2 separate regions of the Homo sapiens genome follow, and region 1 is linked to region 2. The links are contacts of gene promoters, found by promoter capture Hi-C in human tissues and cell types (Jung and others, 2019). All regions are on one chromosome and are shown on one strand. The core of a region is centred on a gene start or on the middle of the fragment in contact, and the rest is flanking DNA. Distances in the headings are between cores, read along the strand shown.

The links. Contacts are between HindIII fragments. The study calls those that stand out against the background at their distance.
Region 1: a contact is called between a fragment that was not itself captured here and the fragment with the promoter of PRDM14 in region 2, in 1 of the 25 tissues and cell types used here (spleen).

What each region holds. Positions count from the first base shown.
Region 1 is chr8:70,675,785-70,678,674 of GRCh38, forward strand. The region is part of intron 2 of XKR9 (XK related 9); the gene reads left to right. Among named protein-coding and RNA genes, the nearest start is that of XKR9, 7.9 kb to the left of the region's middle. The HindIII fragment of the contact is 4,521 bases long and covers 1-2,890 here.
Region 2 is chr8:70,069,892-70,072,649 of GRCh38, forward strand. PRDM14 (PR/SET domain 14) reads right to left here and starts at 1,361. Exons shown (of 8, transcript NM_024504.4): 1 at 1,259-1,361. RefSeq lists enhancers at 855-1,584, 1,585-2,314. The HindIII fragment of the contact is 14,761 bases long and covers 1-2,758 here.

The sequences.
Region 1 (2,890 bases), core at 257-2,756, 610 kb after region 2:
ACTTCATTGTCCATATCATTATCGGCATTTGGGTCACAACCTTTAAGAAGCTCCAAACTTTCCCTCATCTTCCCTTCTTCTCTGAGTCTTACAAACTCTTCTAGCCTCTGCCTGTTACTCAGTTCTAACACTGTTTTCATGTTTTCAGGTATCTTTATAGCAAAACTTTACTACTGGTGCCAATTTTCTGTGTTAGGCCATTCTTGCATTGCTATAAAGAAATACCTGAGACTGGGTAATTTATAAGAAAATAAGTTTAATAGGCTCATGGTTCTTCAGGCTGTACAGGAAGCAAAGTGCCAGAATCTGCTTTTGGGGAGGCCTCAGGAAGCTTACAATCATGGCAGAAGGTGAAGAGGAAGCACGTGTCTCACGTGGAGAGAGCAGGAGCAAAAAAGAGAGTAGTGGGGGAGATGCAATGCTTTACAACAACCAGATCTCACTCACTATCGTGAGGACAGCACCAAACCATGAGAGATACACCCCTATGACCCAAAACCTCCAACCAGGCCCCACCTCCAACATGGGGGATTACAATTCAACATGAGATTTGGTAGGGACATATATTCAGATTATATCATTGTCCTATTAAGTCAGTAAGTGTAAGAAGTCCCCTATGAAGCCAAACTTTGTAGGTGGCATTATTTTACCTAAGGTGGTACTGGAATAGTGATCAACCATAGAGATAGAGATGAACTATTCTTAATACAAGTTATTCAACAATTGAAAGACCTGCAGCTCTCTTTATCAGATCCGCCGTATGTATTAGCTTGCTATGTAGGTTTCCTTCTACTTGGTGTTATGTTCTGCCTGACTAAATTAGGAATATGGATATTACCATATTAGATTAATCTATTGCATCTAATGTTCTGCCAGTAACAGTTTCTGTTTCTTGGAAATTATTCTTTCCATCTTGTAAAAGTTGACTCAAAACTGCTAGTGTTGGCCAGGTATGGTACCTGTGCTGATAGTCCCAGCTACTCAGGAGGCTAAGGTGGGAGGATCACTTGAGCACAGGAATTCAAGACCAGCCTGGGTAATATAGAGAGACCCTGTCTCTTAAACAAACAAACAAACAAACAACCCAAACCTGCTACTACTATTTTTATTACTCTTGCCAGGTAAAGGAAGCTCTCTTTATGGGTAGAGAGATTAAGAAATGCACATATGGAATACTGAAGTATTATAGTCTGTAATTTTAAGGAAATTATCTACATTTAAAATCATTTAAAGCAAAATTTTAGCTTAACTATTGTGTTTTAGTCAAGTTTTATTCTTTTGAACATGTTCTCAGACTATAAAGTTTTCCTGAGAAAAAGCAGTGGAAAATAAGTTAAAGATTAAAAAAAAATAAAAAAAATCTTTTTTTGTTTTGTTTTGTGACAGGGTCTCACTTTGTTGCCCAGTCTGGAGTGCAGCGATGCCATATCAGTTCACTGCAACCCCCACTTCCTGGGCTTAAATGATCCTCCCACCTCAGCCTCCCAAGTAGCTGACACTACAGGAGCACACTACCATGCCTGGCTAATTTTTGTATTTTTTTTGTAGAGGTGGGGTTTCACCATGTTGCCCAGGCTGGTCTTGAACTCCTGGACTCAAGTGATCTGCCTGGCTCAGCCTCCCAAAGTGCTGAGATTACAGGCGTGAGCTACTGCACCTGGCCAAGATTTTTGTTTAGAAAGGTTTAGATCACATCATTTGCAATTCTAACTATATTCCCCTCTCCCTTTAATTTCACTACAGAAAAGAATAATATACAATAATAATGTGTATTCTATCTCAAATCTATAGACTGCTGTGCCTAAGTGTTATACTCACACAGCTATAAATGTTTTCTGTTTTCTCTTCAGATACTGTGTAAGTATATTGTGGGTAGGACCTAAGCATTGGAGGCAAACAGATTTTACTCATTAGAGAAAACTCACCTAAATATCCAACACCTCTATGCCTCAGTTTTCTGGTCTACAAAATGGAGTCAATAATACTGTTTTCACAGGGATTTGTGAGGATTAAATGAAATAATTTATGCCAAAAAACTTCACTTTTAGTAAACACCTAGCAGTAGTAGCTACTATTACTACCATCTATTCTTCTCCTATATAAGCAATTTTTTTCTTAGTAAAGCTTAAGAAATTATATTTTTAAGAATGATATTAGAACAGGATTTGTATACACATTAAACATATCCAGTAGAACCATGCTAAGGAATTTCTGACAATATTTTTTGAAACTTTTGTTTTTGAAGGATTCAAAATCTAGTGCATTAGACTTTTGAACTAGCTGTTCCTTCAAGCTGGAAGGCTTTTCCATCTCTATGCACATGGCCAATTTCACTACTCAAATGCCACCTTCTCAGTGAGTCCTGCCCTGACCAATCTAATTAATGTCACAGCCCATGATATGCCCATCTCTACTGTAATTGCTGATCTTCCTTACTATGCTTTATTTTTTCCATAGCACTTACCACCTTCTAATATATTTGATTTATTAATTATTTTTTATTGTTAATTGACTATATTTTGAATTTTATGTTTAAGAATGATACATAATAGATGTACATATTTTTGAGGTGCATGTGATAATTTAATACATTCATATAATTTATAAAGATCAAATCATTGTAGTTGAGATACCCCTTGATTATCTTTCTGTGCTAGGATATAAGTTCCACAGGGGCAGGAATATTTGTCTCTCATCACTTGATATATCCAGGAAAGCCTAAAACAGCACATGGTAGTTTCTAAGTAAATATTTAATTAGTTCAATTGAGCAGAACCTCCCGATTAATCTCATCCTCCTAAACCCCATGTGTATGTTGGCTTGAGGTCTTTCATGTTAGCATAAGAAACCTGCTGCAGGGAAATTCATGGCCCACTAGATTTTTAAAACT
Region 2 (2,758 bases), core at 111-2,610:
AAAGCGGGCGCCGCTGAGGACACCGCGCGGGAGCTTCCCGGGGTCCGACCCGCGCCTCCCCACCAGCCTCCTCCACCCCAGCCAGCCCCAGATCCAAGGGAACAGGATAAACGCCCCCAGTCCGATCCCGCCAGCCCGCTCCCACAATTAAGACAAAACGAAAAAACAGCAATAGAAGCAAACACAAAAAAGCCCCAAACGGAAATCTGCCGGGATCCTGCCCTACTCTAAATTCCGGGTTAGTGTTGCCTTCCCCTTCCCTCTCCAAGCACCCCTTCCCTAAGCCCGGCCGCCTTCCCACACCCGCTCTCCGCTTTCGGCCCCCAACCCGGTTCCTGCAAAACCCATTGAAGTTCCCTTTCCTTCCTTCTTCTCAGTCCTACAAAACTCGTTGGTAGGGTCTGTGGGAGCCGCGGGGCCCTGCCAACCTCGGGGCTGGGCCGGGAGCCGAGCGCAGGCGGTCGGAGGGCAATGGAGCAAGCGACAGCTCCAGGCGCTCCTGGGCCCTCGGCTGGGAGGGAAGAGCCGAGGACCCTGGGTCGCACCGCGCAGATGGAGACGCGCTCCCAGAGCCCCCGGGCAGGTCCAGGGACCCCGCGACCTGCTCTGGCCCAGCGGTGTGACCCCGCGGGTCCTGGCGGTCCTGACTGCCCGCAGGGGAGGGGCGCGCCACTTTTGGCTGCCCTAGGATGCGCCGCCTGAACCTCTTTTCCCTCGCGGGCAGCGTCCGCCACATTCCCCGGGTTCCTCGGAAACTCCAATCATTCTACCAGGACTATTGGGGCCTGGGGTAGCCCCTCGGGAGCCGCGTGGACGAGCCCTGGCCAGGTGGGAGCGAAGAGCCTCGGCGACTGCCAGTCCTCCCGCCCCCGCACCGCCGGGAAAGGATGGCGTTTTAATAGACAGGCAGCAAGTTCACCGAGGCTGAAGAATGAAGCCCCTTCAGGGCCGGCGGGTCTTGAGATCAATGAGCCCAATAAGAAAACCAAGCAGGGTCATGACTCAGAAATTAAAGAACACGGGGTCAGGAGAAGAGGTCAGCCACGACACAGGCAGCGGCCCGTCTCCTCCCGATCCTCCAAAGGCGCCCTTCTCCTAGCCTCCTCCGACCTCAGGGATCTGCAACTTGGGATTCAAAGCCCCCGAGAGGGCAGAACGACCATCCAAAACGAACTGCGCCAGCGAGTGCTGCCGCCCTCCCCAACGGCCCTGGAAGACCACCGCCCCGGGCCCCAGGCGCGTCCTGTCCCGTGCCTACCTCCGACACCACCTCCAAGAGCGCCACCGCGGAGCGGGCGCCTCCTGGACGCTGCGGGGCCACTCGGGCTCGGTAGGCCACTCGGGCTCGGTAGACTTCGGGCGGGCCCTGAGGGCTGAGCCAGGCTTAAGAGGGCGGGCGGGGCCGCGGGGCATCGACAGGTCGAGGGTAGGGAATTGACCCGGCCCACGCAGATCCCCGCGTCGTCTTCTCCCCGCCCACCGCAGCCATTGGCCGACTCTCGACTCGCCCTCTGTCCCCTGGGGTCGCTCACTTAACTCATCAGTTTTCCAAACCCTCCCTGGGACCCTAGTGGCGAGCACTCGCCGCTGGCCTTCTAGGGCAGGCAGTATTGCCGCTCCAGGCGTGCGGAGTCGGGGAGAAAAAAACCGAACACGTGTGCTACCCAGGGCCCCCAGATAAGCCCCTCCGCGCGCACACACACCCTGAACCGGAGTCCAGAAGGCCGGACTCGCGTCCCGGGGTCGAGCCCCTTACTCTCCGCTCCCAGTTCGGAAGATCCCAGCCTGCCCGAAGGCGGCGTCTGACCCGCTGGTGGACCTGGTGGGTGTCTGTTCCTGATACCTGGGGACGAGGCGGGAGCGCCTTGAGCGCTGGGAAGCTTCGCCTCGCGAGTCCCCGGCAGTGACACGTGGGAGCGTTGGGCCCGGCACCCCCGACGCTTCCGAGGTTTCGGGTGGTCGTTTTGCTCTCTCGGGGGCTTTTATTCCTTAAGTGGCTTTAAACGACCGAGGATGGGCCTCCCGCGCCGCCGCAGCTGTCACTTCCTTCGGGAAAGGCTAGCGACCTTGGACGCGCAGGCTCTGAAAACCAAGGTCCAGACCCATACCGAGCGCCCAAAGACCGCATTTGAATTCTCCTCGCCGGCCATTGAGGGAGAGAAAGGAACGCTTAGTTCCATTCACATTCACAGAAAGAAGCGCCGAGGGTGGGGGAAACGCAGTCTTGCCGGGTGAGCCGGGACAGGTTCCTCGCCTGCCCCCCGGCCGCTGCTTCCTCTTAGCTGAATGGGGAGCGACCCGCCCCGGGCGCGGCCTTCGGGGCTGAAGACTGAGGTGCAGCCTCACCCCCGGCCTGGCAGCGGCTTGGAAGAGAGAGGGAAAGGAGGAACATCTACCCGGCTAAGAGACGCCGCCAGAGTCCCTAAAGCTGGCGGGGGACGGAGGCCGGGGTCCCGGATCTTCAGAGCGCCCGCAGCCGGGCTTCTGGGCTCCTCGGTGCGGGGAACCTGACCCTGTAGCCTTCGCCAGGGCGCGGCGGGGCTGCAAGAAGGGAGGAAGGAGTGGGACTAGAGCCTTCGAGGGCGCGGGCGGCGTGCACTCAGCCTTGTCTCCCCGCGCGCCCTGCCGCCTGCTTGCCCCCTTTGCTGCACCGGGTGGCCCTGGTCCCCGCGCCCGCCCGCCCCCGACGCCTTCGCGTGGTTCCGCGCTGCCCGCGGCCAGCCCCGTTTCGCTTCGCAAGGAGCGTGTTGTTTTCTCA